2 separate regions of the Homo sapiens genome follow, and region 2 is linked to region 1. Evidence: promoter capture Hi-C in 16 types of primary human blood cells and fetal thymus (Javierre and others, 2016). All regions are on one chromosome and are shown on one strand. Each heading gives the region's core, a stretch centred on a gene start or on the middle of the fragment in contact. The rest is flanking DNA. Distances are from core to core; before and after follow the strand shown.

Region 1 (6,513 bases), core at 3,115-5,614:
AGTCCCCCAGCCTCTGCCGGTGCCTTCTGTGGTGAAGGGTGGCCGCCCGCCTTTACCAACAGCACAAGCAGGGTGGAGCCTCCCGGCAGGCCTGGGCAAAAGCGGCAGTGGCTCCTGACTAGGAGGGGCCTTCAGGAAAAGTCAGGCGGCACAGAAGCCAGGACCCAGCACCCTGGCCTGCTCACAAGCCCCTCACCTGCCACAGAGCAGCCAGCGGGCGCACCTGGTCAGCCACTGAGCCACTGCAGGGAGCCTGGGCCACCCACCCGCATCGTAGGCACGGGCCACCTCTGGCCTCGCTGCAGAGCTGCTCCCCAGCAGGCCAACAGGGAAGGAAAACTCAACCCGAAGCAACTGAGGAGCCCGGAGAGGCTGACACTTCCCAGCACGGGGAGAGGGTGAAGCAGCTGCTTTTTCAGTTGAGACTCGGCTTTCACACCTGGCCCCTTGGGGCCCACAGCTGCACCAAGACAATGTGGTGACATGGGAGGCAGCAGCAGAGGCCTCAGGAGGTGCTGGTCCCCAGGCAGAGCTCCAGGCCATGACCCGCCCACGCCACTGGCCATCCTTAGGGAGGCAGCTGCCCCTGTCCTCGGGGCTCCTGCTTGGGGGCATGAGGTATAGGCAGCTGGGCCCTGGACGGATTAGAGGTGTGAGGGGCCCCAGACAGAGGCAGGAGACCGGACCCCACCCTCACTCTGCCCGGCCCTGCTGCACTGCCGGGAGCAAGAGCCTTCCCTCCCTGTGGCTTTGGTGCCCACATGCACAGCCACGAGACCCACCCTGAGGACACCCGAATGTCTCCCCAGGGAAGCTCTGAAAGTGGCTACTGTTTATGTCCCCTGAGCACATCCTGGGATCGCTATGAACAGAAGCCACACTGTTTTGTTCCCTGCTGTATCTGCAGAGCCCAGAAGTCAAGCACACAGGACTCAAAGCTGATATATCCCATGAATAAATGAACAGCCCTGAGGGGAGCCTGGGGGGCCGGTGATCTGAGAGGCCCCACCTTACCAGATTCCCTGGGAGAAGACAAAATCTCTACCAGGAGAGATCTAGTGATACAAGCTTCTTAGACAAGAGACAAGCGGCCGAGTTCCGGGCCTCACTCCAGCCCCAGGACCACGGAAAGTACTCACATCCACCCAGGCCAGCCATCCCAGGCCAACAGTGGTGGGCACCCCTGGAACCATCCAGCACTCGTGGTTCCCTTTCGCCTGGCTTTTTGGTTGCTGGTTTGTAAAATTCTGGGTCTGGCCATCCTCCGTTTCACCCTGCAACAGCCCAAGGATCTCGTTCCAAACACTCAGAAGCACATCGCAGCTTCCCCTGGGCCCCCACTATTCCAGGCCCACACTCCACCCTGGTCTGGCACTGCAGGTTCCCACATTTGCCGGCCCGCCTCTCTCCTGCCTTTCAACCCTCAGTGCCACTCATTCCGAACTGGGCTCTGCCAAGGCCATGCTCTCCAAAGCCTCCAACCCTTTACTCAGGCTGCTGCTTCTGCCAGGAGCACCATCCCCCAATTTGTGAGTCCAGGGACTCCCTTGGGACAGCTCGCCCCGCCCTGAGCTCATCACCCTGGGGGACAATCACCTTTCCACACACCATCACCCACTGGGGCTGAAGGGTTCTGCAAGGCACAGAGGACAGCAGGGGCTGAGATGCTGCATCCGGCACACCAGGCCTCGACACGGCTTCCTAATCCAAGCCTCTGCCCCGCAACATCCAGGTCTGAGCTCCCGCTCCCCTGTTGCTCCAGGCTCCAGGCTGCACAACCTGTGTAGGGTCCTGACCATCATCCTCTGTGACCCTGGGCAAGTCCCTTAACCTCTAGGTGCTCCAGGTCCTCATGGACCCCCACCCAATAGGAGCTAAGTACAGACTGAATGACTTACTATAGCCAGAGTACTTTGCTAAGTGAGCCCTTCATAAGCATTCAGTTACTCTGAAAGCCTCTACAGCATCGCAATCCCTTGTCCTCTGACTTGTTTGATAACCAGTAAAAGTGTGATTTTTCTGACCCAGCAACAAGAGAAAACAACTGTTCTCAACCTTTGACCCCGGCCCCATCAGGTGGGGCCAAGTCAAAACGACCCAACAGCAGGGTCCACTGGGGTCCTTGGGGCACCCACAGCAGCAGCCCTCACCACAACCCGTTGGCAAGAGACCAACCACAGGACTTGCAAACCAGAGCACAGGGCCTTCATTTCAAAGCCTGGCACAGGCCTCAGCACAGAGACTGAATGAGCCTTTCGGAGTCTCCATGGCTCCATAGTCTGCCAGTCCTTGCTGGGGACCCTGGCCAAGGGGATTCAGAACACAGAGCGTCCTGTCCACGTTCTCAGAAGCCCTGGCTGAGGCCACAGCATAGGGACAAAGAGCGCTCCCCGAGAGCCTCCTCTTGTCAGCCACACTGCCCAGCAGAGCGGGTCTCACCTGCCAGGGAGGACCTGCAATGATCACAGAGCTTACCCAGGACGGCCACTGGCCCCCACACCAGCCCGCCGGGCCCTGTGCTGAGGACAAACTCTGGATTCTCTCTGAATCCTCACAATGCCCGCCAGGCAGTCCTTAGTATTATCTCCCTTTTACTGAGATTCGGAAAGGTGAAGCATGGCCAGGCACAGTGGCTCACGCCTGTAATCCCACCACTTTGGGAGGCCGAGGCAGGCAGATCACCCGAGGTCAGGAGTTTGAGACCACCCTGGCCAACACAGTGAAACCCCATCTCTACTAAAAATACAAAAATTAGCCAAGTGTGGTGGCGGGCGCCTGCAGTCCCAGCTACTTGGGAGGCTGAGGCGGGAGAATCGCTTCAACCCAGCAGAGGTAGAGGCTGCAGTGAGCCGAGATCACGCCACTGCACTCCAGCCTGGGTGACAGAGTGATACTCCATCTCAAAAAAGAAACAGAAAGGTTAAGCAACCTGCCAAGGTCACACAGCCAGTGCAGCCCCAGAAAGGCGCCCAGACCCCTAGACACAAAGTCTGTGTTCCCTGAACGGTGCCATATGCTGGGCGTCTCATCAAGGGGCCTGCCAGAGCTGCTCCCTGCAGATCTCCTTCCTGACTGGTCCCAGGAAGCACCTGAAGAACTTCCTGGAGGCAGCTTCTGAGGTGAGCAGACAGGGTGGCCACCTTGGCCTCTGGTTTTTCATCTCTCGTCAGGGTCCCCTCCTTGGCCCCTCATTACTCCATGGATGGGCACATGCCACAGACCAGTGGGTGGGCACCAGGATTCCAACCCAGTTCCTTCCAGACAGAGGAGGAAAGAAGGAAAGAGAGGCCAGAGAGGGAAGGAGCCAGGTGTGAATTCTCAGAGTGGTTCGAGCAGCAGCCGCACCAGAACAGAGGGCTGTGACCTTGGGCAGGTCTCAGGGCCTCTCTGGGCCTCAGTTTCCTCATCTGTGAAGTGAAGCTAAGGTCCTTCCACCTCTTAATCCAGAATCTCATTCCCCTGGTGTCAGCGAGGGGCGGACGCACCCCACCCTCGGGGGGCGGATTCAGCAATCTTCAGACCAGGACAAAAAACGGGAAGGGCAGGAGGGAGTGCAGAGGGGACTCTGGGGTGGCAGAGGGCAAGGAGAGGAAGCCGCCCCCGTCTAGGGGGCCCGCCCCAGCCCCACGGGAAGTGGGACGGGGAAAGGCACCCTACAAAGAAAGGACTCCTAGCTCCCAACTGGTTCGAATCCCACCTCGGCCACTTACTGGGTGTGTGACCTTGGGTAGGGTAACGCCTCTCTGTGAGCCTCTGCTTTTTCCAGAAGAAACGGGAAAAATCAAAGTGCTGCCTTCTCTGAGTCAATTAGGCGACCCTCATTACGGCGACAGTCGGGAAGTATGGGGTCTGGGCCCGCCCGGGCACACGGAGGGTGCCTGCCGCAGGTGGCCGGTTCCCTCGGGGCTGCCCAAGGCTGGGCGAGGGCCTCTTCGCCCAGCTGGTCGGGATCAGGACGCGACACGGAAGAGACCCCAGCTCTGCCCTGACCCCGGTCCGGGTCCGCAGGACGCAGCCCACTCGCCCTCAGAACACCGGCTCGCCTGGCACCCGGCGCGGCCCGGGCCCCGCTCGGACTCGAACCTGGTGGGGGCGCGCCCGGCAGAAAGCGGGGTGCTGGGACAGCGGGACCCCCACGCGCGACCCTGGTCTCCCGGGCCAGTCCCCTCCCCAGGTCCGGGCGGCTCACCAGGGCCGACTTGGATGCTGCGGTAAGTGGTCAGCCCCGCCGGCCAGTCGCCGCCACCGCCGCGGGCCCCGCCCAGCAGGGGCTCCGACTCCGCCTGGGGTTCCGCCATCCAGCAGCCCACGCGCTGGACCCGACCCTCAGAAGCTCAAGCCCCGAAGGCGCCCAGCTTCACTGCGCAGGCGCGGAGACCCCGTCCCTGGCGTTTTTGCTGACGCGCGCACGGCACTGTGGCGCAGGGGATCCCTGCAGTCCCAGCCAATGAGAACGGGGAGGGAGGGGTGGGGTTCTCCTGAGTGGGGCGGAGCTAAAGGGCCCCGCCCCTCTAGGGTGGAGCTCAGCTTCGTTCCACCCAGGGCGGGGCAGCGTTCTGGGGCTTAAGGGCCGAGGGCTGGGGAGGAAATATGTTCTCAAAGGATGTCTTTCCGGCCAGAAGCTTCAGCATCACCTGGAAACATTTTAGAAATGCAAATTCTTGGGCCCTTAAACCTACTAAATCAGCAACTCTGCGGGGAGGACCCAGGAATCTGTGTTTTAACAAGCATTCGGGGTGATTCTGATGCATGTGAGTATTGAGTACACGGGGTGACTGCAAAGGACTCCCCCCAGAATGGAACTGGAGTTTACCCTCTGATGGTGAAATTAGGAGGATTCAATATCATTAAGGGAAAAGTTTAAAAACATATGACACACTTAAAAAATATTTACAACGTATATAAAAAGTGTTTTCAACATTAATGCATAAAGACCTTGTATTCGTTTTCTATTGCTACAGTGACTAATTACCACAATCTGAAAATATAAAATAACTCCCATTCATCATCTTTCAGTCCTGCGGGGCAGGAAACCTCCTGTCTCAGGGCCTCACGAGGCTAGAGTCAAAATGTCAGCTGCCGTGGGCTCTTATCTGCAGACTCTGGGGAAAGCCCACTTCCAGGCTCATCCAGGATGTTAACAGAATTGTCTCCATGGGCCTAGGACTGAAGTCCACGTCTTCTTGCTGGATGTTGGCTGGTGTCATTCTCACTCCTAGAGGCCACTGCATTCCTTCCACGATGGCTTGAACACCTCCATCATCAGAGCCAGCAAGCAAGAGCACGCTGAAGACGCTTCGAGATGCAGCAAGACGCCTGTAATCCCAGCCCTTTGGGAGACCGAGGCAGGTGGATCACGAGGTCAGGAGATCGAGACCATCCTGGCCAACATGGTGAAGCCCCGTCTCTACTGAAATACAAAAAGTTAGCCAGACGTGGTGGCACGTGTCTATAGTCCCAGCTACTCGGAGGCTGAGGCAGGGGAATCGCTTGAACCCGGGAGGCGGAAATTGCAGTGAGCTGAGATTGCGCCACTGCACTCCAGCCTGGCAACAGAGCGAGACTCCATCTCAAAAAAAAAGGTGCTGCAAGACGCTTCCAATCTCTGTGACTTCCCCTTCTGCCATACCTCTTTACTTTTTCCCCCTCTTTTGGGGAGGGGGGAGGGTTTAAAATAAATATAAAATTTACCATCATAACTGTGAAAGGAAAATAAATCTCAGGACTCCAAAATCACTAAGCCAAAGGGAAAAGTCAAGCTGGGAACTGCGTTGGGCAAACTGCCTCGCCTTTTCTTCTTTAATAAAATAGCTACGAAGATTTAAAAAGCTACATACCTCCCTCACAATTTGCCCGCTAGGAAATTTTTCGTGGGCACCCAAGATCTTTACCCTAAAACAGTTTTGTTGAATTTTACCCTAACAATGTACATTGACAACTGATCTTCACAGGTTCCAAACAAAGGATGGAACTCTAAGTCATCCCTCTGCTCACCTGATTGCTTCCTCTGGTATAAAAGTGCAGATTCACCGAGCCAGACTAAGGCATAAGTGACTATTCCTCTACCCCCGCAACCTGTAAATTGTGTATTTCAGTGAAAGTCTGATCAAAGACTCACAAGAATGCAACCTTTGTCTCTTATCTCTCCACATATTTTTAAAATTTCTCCCTCTTTCCCAATATCCACCCTTTCCCTTTTTTTTTTTTTTTTTTTTTTTTGAGACAGAGTCTTGCTTCGTTGCCCAGGCTAGAGTGCAGTGGTGCGATCTCAGGTCACTCAGCAACCTCCGCCACAGCACCTGGCCAGTTTCCCCTTTAAATATTGAAGTCCTACAAATCATCCTTGAAGGAAGGCATAGACCTGCCTCCCAGGCACTCCTTAACCTTGGCAAAATAAACTTACTAAATAGATCGAGACCTGTCTCAGATATTTTTAGTTCACATAACTATATTGAAGTGTACAGCTCATTGATATTAAATATATTAATGATGCTATACAACTATCACCTCCAA
Region 2 (6,513 bases), core at 1,292-3,791, 290 kb after region 1:
GACATGAACCATTGCGCCTGGCAAATTTAATTTTTAATAGTGGCTGTATTTAATAGCCAGCTTGAAAATTCTCTGAAAATATGGCAGCTGGCTCGTGGGAGTTGGTACAAGTCTGACACCTCTGTCCCCGTTCCGAATCTTACTCCATATATCTGTTACCTTCACTGTCTGAGATGCTATTTGCTGGTATGCCCCCACCCCCACCCTGCACTCCCTGCCCCAGTCTGGGGGCCCCACCCACCCCGCATGCTCTCTGCAGATACGCTGCCCAAGCCAGTGAGGCCTTTGGAGACATAGACTTGTGGTGTGTGGAACAATCAAAAGACCAAGCCAGGCTTTTCTCGTCTTCCCAAAGCGACTCCTGAGGGACGGTAGAGGAGGGGATTAGGAAACATTTCCCTGTTTCACTCAATAGGTTTTATCTGAGCCTTGGAGATTATCAACAAGCCAGACCCCTCAGCAGCAAGTGGAGCTGTTTGACTTGGAGAATAACCCAGAGTACGTGTCCAGCGGAGGGGGCTTTGGACCGGTGAGTGCGGCGGGGCTGGGCGAGGCGCAGTGGGGCGTGGTGATGGGATGGGTAATGGGGTGTGATGGGCCCATCTCCGTGCTGGGTGCCCCCGTTACCTTGCGGTTCTACCGCCGTAAAGGAATTACTGCTGATCATTGCTATGGATGTCCTTGGCAGTCTTGCACTTATTTTTTATTTTTTTGAGACAAGGTCTCGCTCTGTCACCCAGGCTGGAGTGCAGTAAGCATGATCATGGCTCATGGCAGCCTGAATCTCCCCCATCTCAGGTGATCCTCCCACCTCCACCTCCTGAGTAGCTGGGACTACAGATGCATGCCACCATGCCCAGCTAATTTGTGTGTGTGTGTGTATTTTTTTGTAGAGACAGGGTTTCACCATGTTGTCCGGGCTGGTCTCGAACCCCTGGGCTCAAGTGACCCGCCTGCCTCAGCCTCCCAAAATGCTGGGATTACAAGGAGAAGCCACCGAGCCCCGCCAGTGTTGCATTTAGAACATTAGAAAGTCCCTTTTTCACGTTGTCTCATTTCCCAGCAACAAATTCAAATTCCCTTGTCCTCCAGGTTGCTGATGACGGCTATGGTGTGTCGTACATCCTTGTGGGAGAGAACCTCATCAATTTCCACATTTCTTCCAAGTTCTCTTGCCCTGAGACGGTATGTATGAAAAGAAGTTCCTTTTTCTGAAGATGGGGTATTTTTGCTTTATTCTTTTTAAGGAAACACATCTTTAATTTGACAGAAAAAGTCAATTCAACTGCCTGCTTTTACTTGATTTCGGGAATTTTCACATAAATGGACTGCTTTTAAAAAAAAATTTTTTTTTTTTTGGAGACACAGTCTCACTCTGTCGCCCAGGCTGGAGTGCAGGGGCGAGATCTTGGCTCACTGTAACCTCTGCCTCCCGGGCTCAAGTGATTCTCCTGCCTCAGCCTCCCAAGTAGCTGGGACTACAGGCACCCGCCACTACCCCGGCTAATTTTTTTGTATTTTTAGTAGAGACAGGGTTTCACCATGTTGGGCAGGCTGGTCTCAAACTCCTGACCTCAGATGATCCACCTGCCTCGACCTCCCAAAGTGCTGAGATTACAGGCATGAGCCACCGCGCCTGGCCTAAATTTTTTTAATTAAAAAATTGTTTGTACAGACAGGGTCTCCCCACATTTCCCAGGCAAGTCTTGAACTCCTGGGCTCACGCGATCCTCTTACCTCAGCCTCCCAGTGTTGGGATTACAGGCTTCAGCCACTGTGCCCAGCCATAAGTGAATTTCAAAATTCTCTTTACCTAGTTTTAAACAAATGTATCTCAGCCAGGCACGGTGGCTCACACCTATAATCTCAGCACTTTGGGAGGCTGAGGCTGGCCAATCACTTGAGGTGAGGAGTTTGAAACCATCCTGGCCAACATGGTGAAACCCCGCCTCTACTAAAAATACAAAACTTAGCTGGTGTGGTGGCACACGCCTGTAATCCCAGCTACTCAGGAGGCTGAGGTAGGAGAATCGCTTGAACCCGGGAGGTGGAGGTTGTAGTGAGCCAGGATCATGCCACTGCACTCCAGCCTGGGTGATGGAGTGAGACTCCGTCTCAGAAAAAAAAAAAAAAAAAAGGAAATGTATCTAATTTGGTTTAACATGTTTACCTCTGTTGGCAGCAATGGTTTTGAAGCTTAACGTTGGAGTGCTGCTGTAACTTTCAGACTCTTTAGCACTTGGAAGATGAACTAAAAATAATGGGTACACACTAAGAAATCTGCATACAGAGCAGGGGACCCCCGGCTTCCTCTGTGGATGGAACAAGGGACCTCCTCCCTAGCATGGCACATTGCCCTTATTTATATTCTGCTTTCCTTGTCGTACATAGCCTGGCAACCCATGCCACTGTCGCTGTTAACAGAGGAAGTTGGGGTTTATTTGTTCACTGCGGTTTTCTTTTGTTGTTTGTTTGTTTGTTTGTTTTAGACAGGGTCTCACTCTGCCACCCAGGCTAGAGTGCAGTGGTGTGATCTCGGCTCACTGCAGCTTCAGCCTCCTGGGCTCAGGGGATCCTCCTACTTCAGCCTCCTGAGTAGCTGGGACTATAGGGGAGTGCCACCACACCTGGCTGATTTTTGTATTTTTTGTAGAAATGTGGTTTCACCATGTTTCCCAGGCTGGTCTTGAACTCCTGGGCTCAAGCGATTCCAAAGTGCTGGGATTACAGGCATGAGCCACCATGCTCAGGATGGTCATTGTGTTTTCCGTGGGATAAACGCATTGGCATTAGGGGAAGGCTTAGATCGACAACACACCCGCACAAACACATCAGCTGTCATCTCTTTACCCTCAGCATTTCTCTGGAATGTCTAAGTTAAGCTTTAAGACGTTGGTCAGATCTTAGAGAACTGGCAGAAAGGAATTTCAATGAAACATTGGGTCAGATTGCAAATGAAAAAGCTTGAAATGTGGGGATGGCCACGTTTTAATAGGTTTTTGGTTTTTGTTTTTACATGAAAGGATTCTCATCGCTTTGGAAGGCACCTGAAAGAAGCAATGACTGACATCATCACTTTGTTTGGTCTCAGTTCTAATTCCAAAAAGTAATTCCACTGGAGCTGCTGGGAAGGAAAACGAGCTCTTCTGATGCAAACCAAATGAAAAATAGGCATTAATCCTGACCTTAGCTCGGGATGAAACACTGCTCTTAAAAAAACTCAGTTTTCCTTCCAGAAAATGTGGGTGTTTTTTTTTCCTAGAACAGTATCTCTCCCCTGTGAAGCATAACCCCACTACTTCCAGACTTGCCCTCCCTTGGGGGACATCTGATAAAGTCTCCCCTGATGTCTCCGCATCGGCTTGGATTTATTAAGGGATGCAAATCTTGTTGAGTTAATGAAGGAATTAGTAGGGTTGTGGCTTCACACACAGTGGAATGGAAATGGTGTGCTTTCTCAGTGGCAACCGAAGGCCTAGTGCTTAAGGGCATTTAGCATCATCCAAGCAGGGTAAACTTTTGTTTTGTTAAAAGAAAAATGTGTTATTCAAGTTGGTGTCCCCAGTTGTAGCTAACACATCTGGAATGCACTAACCAAAATGCTGTGCTTTGGAGACCTGCTTTTGTCACCGTGGGTAACCGTTCCCGTCTGGTCCAGTAGCCTGTGTTTGCCTCTCCACATTTGAAGCAAGCAGGATGCAAGGTCTTCAGTTTTACTGACCTTGTATGTCTTCAAGTCTTCACAACCCAGTGCCTTAAAAATGAAAGGCCCTAAATGTAAGGGAGATGGAGAGAAAGATTTATTTTGTAGAGTCTTTGGGTGGAATTGTGGGTATACTGTTCCCTTCACAATTGACTGAGTATGGATAACCGTACATAAGCATTTGCTACACCCCACCAGCCCCCTCCCCCTCAGAAACACCAGTTCCTTCCCAAGGGCAGCTGTGCCAGACTCCCCTCCCGGGACTGCCTTCTTGTCATCATAAGCAACAAAAGAAATAACAGGCACATGTCATAAAAGGGGAGCAAGGGCCGTGATGGTCAGATAATTCACTCAAGAATAAAACATGACACGTGCCTCAGGAGGATCTCTTTCCCAAAGTGACAGCAAGGAGGGCAGGGCATCGGCCACCAAGCGGGGACTAGCAAGTGAGGAAGGGGAGGGCAGCCCACCGTGGTGAGGAGAGAGTGGCTCCACGACCCCAAGGGATGGCCTTCTCCTCCCACCCGGTGAGGGGAAAGACTCACCAGAGGGTGATGGAGACAGTATGCCGGCTCACCTTGGTGACCAGCCAAGATGTCTCAAGTGACAGTGCTAGGTGTTCACCCAGCCTGTCCTTCAGATAGGAGTGCCTTCACGAAAGCGTCTCATGGACCACAAAGCAATTATGCACTGAGTCATCTTCAGTATTTAATGCAAAAATGAAGCATCATGGAATGAAATTCCCACTGTCTGTCATGACAAGCTTAGCTGTCCATTGTTTTAAATTGTGTATTTATTTTTTTGACCACTTGGTTCTAGTTGGGCCTGACTCCTTCAGAGTGCTGCACCCCGATAGTACAACAGCGATGGCTGAACTGTTGGAGTCGATGGAAGGTGCTTGCCGGAGAACACGTGCCTTTTTTTTTTTTTTTTTTTTTGAGATGGAGTTTCACTCTTGTTGCCCAGGCTGGAGTGCAGTGGTGCAATCTCGGCTCACTGCAGCATCTGCCTTGCAGGTTCAAGCGATTCTCCTGTCTCAGCCTCCCAAGTAGCTGGGATTACACGCCCAACACCATGCCCTGCTAATTTTTGTATTTTTAGTAGAGACGGGGTTTCATCATATTGGTCAGGCTGGTCTCGAACTCCTGACCTCAGGTGATCCACCTGCCTCAGCCTCCCAAAGTGCTGGGATTACAGGCATGAGCCACCATGCGCGGCCCACATGCATGTTTTATGTATGTATACTTCATGATGTAAAAATCCCACCTTTATGGGCCAAAGATTTTTTTTCTCCTGAAAGCAAGAAAAAATGAAAACAAAAGACAAAAAAAAAAAAAAAAGCGTCCAGGCGCGGTGGCTCATGCGTGTAATCCCAGCACTTTGGGAGGCCAAGGCGGGCGGATCACGAGGTCAGGAGATGGAGACCATCCTGGCTAACACGGTGAAACCCCGTCTCTACTAAAAATTCAAAAAATGAGCCGGGCGTGGTGGCGGGCGCCTGTAGTCCCAGCTACTCAGGAGGCTGAGGCAGGAGAATGGCGTGAACCCGGGAGGCGGAGCTTGCAGTGAGCCGAGATCGCTCCACTGCACTCCAGCCTGGGCGACAGAGCGAGACTCCGTCTAAAAAAAAAAGCAAAAACAAACCAACAACAAAAGCCCCTGACTGTCCGTCAAGCAGGCAGCGGGGATGTAGCTCTCTCTGCCCTGGGCAAGAATAGCACTTCCCGTTAAAAGCCAGCAGCCGGCGTCAGTCCCTATCAGAGCCAGCTAGATCATGCACTGTTGACCACTGAGCAATCTGTGTTACACTAGAGTTCACAGGGCATTTTGAGTGTAGACGTGAGTGCTTAAACATATTTGGGTTTCTCTCTCAGGTTTTAAATGTTTCAAATGTAATTGTTGCTCATCAGTGCAGTTATCAATGCAATTTTATATTCCTTGAGGGGAGAAAGAGGGGTCTTATTGTACATGTCCAAGGGGGGTGATAAGAGTATTATCTGTTTAATTTAATTGGAACAAACCATTGTCTTAACGCAGCCATGGTTTGAATTTGTTATCTTGGGCTGACCGGTGCATGTAAATACAGTATGCTCTTTGGATGTAAATCTTAGAAATGCAGTGTGAATGTAGGTTATCATTAATAAAACATTAACCCCAGTCTACTACAAGATTTGTTTCTGTCTCTTTTGTTATATTAAGGGGATTATAAGTCAAGGACCAAGTTCAGATACTTGAGACAAAGTGGAAAGTCTCAGCATATGGAAACAAGGCCTTGGAGGAGACCATGGACATCACCAAGTTCATGTGCTGGGCTGGAAAGAAAAGCCTGTTGATTTTCACTTGCTGTGCATTTATTCATCCATTCCATTGCCTCAATGCTGAGAACAGTGCCTGACACATAAAAGATGCTCAATAAATATGTTAAAAGTAATGCATGAATTCCATTTTTCTGTTTTTCTTGAGCACCTGTATTAGGCCATTCTCACATTGCTGTAAAGAAATAGCTGAGACTGGGTAATTTATAAGAGGTTTAATTGGCTCTCAGTTCTGCAGGCTATACAGGAAGCATGGAGGCATCTGCTTCTGGGGAGGCCTCAAACAGCTTTTTACTCATGGTGGAAGGCAAAGGGGGAGCAGGCATTCTACATGGTGAAAGGAGACAGAGAGAGAAAGAGAGGAGGTGCTCTCTTACACATTTGCAAACAACCAGATCTGAGAGAGAGAGAGGAGGTGCTCTCTTACACACTTGCGAACAACCAGATCTCACAGGAACTCACGCACTCTATGGTGAGGACAGTAGCAAGAGGGAT

Evidence for each region. Contacts are between HindIII fragments. The CHiCAGO score rates a contact against its expected background, and 5 or more counts as called.
Region 2: a fragment that was not itself captured here is called in contact with the fragment with the promoter of TPCN2 in region 1 in 1 of 17 cell types (fetal thymus); the score reaches 5.0 in fetal thymus.

The regions. Positions count from the first base shown.
Region 1 is chr11:69,046,783-69,053,295 of GRCh38, reverse strand. TPCN2 (two pore segment channel 2) reads right to left here and starts at 4,364. Exons shown (of 25, transcript NM_139075.4): 1 at 4,190-4,364. The coding sequence starts at 4,298. RefSeq lists enhancers at 1-235, 1,386-1,960 and silencers at 3,937-4,036, 4,117-4,286, 4,407-4,626. The HindIII fragment of the contact is 3,554 bases long and covers 1,071-4,624 here.
Region 2 is chr11:68,754,241-68,760,753 of GRCh38, reverse strand. It overlaps CPT1A (carnitine palmitoyltransferase 1A), which reads left to right. Exons shown (of 19, transcript NM_001876.4): 17 at 416-529; 18 at 1,093-1,185; 19 at 3,024-5,871. The coding sequence ends at 3,110. Among named protein-coding and RNA genes, the nearest start is that of TESMIN, 6.0 kb to the right of the region's middle. The HindIII fragment of the contact is 686 bases long and covers 2,199-2,884 here.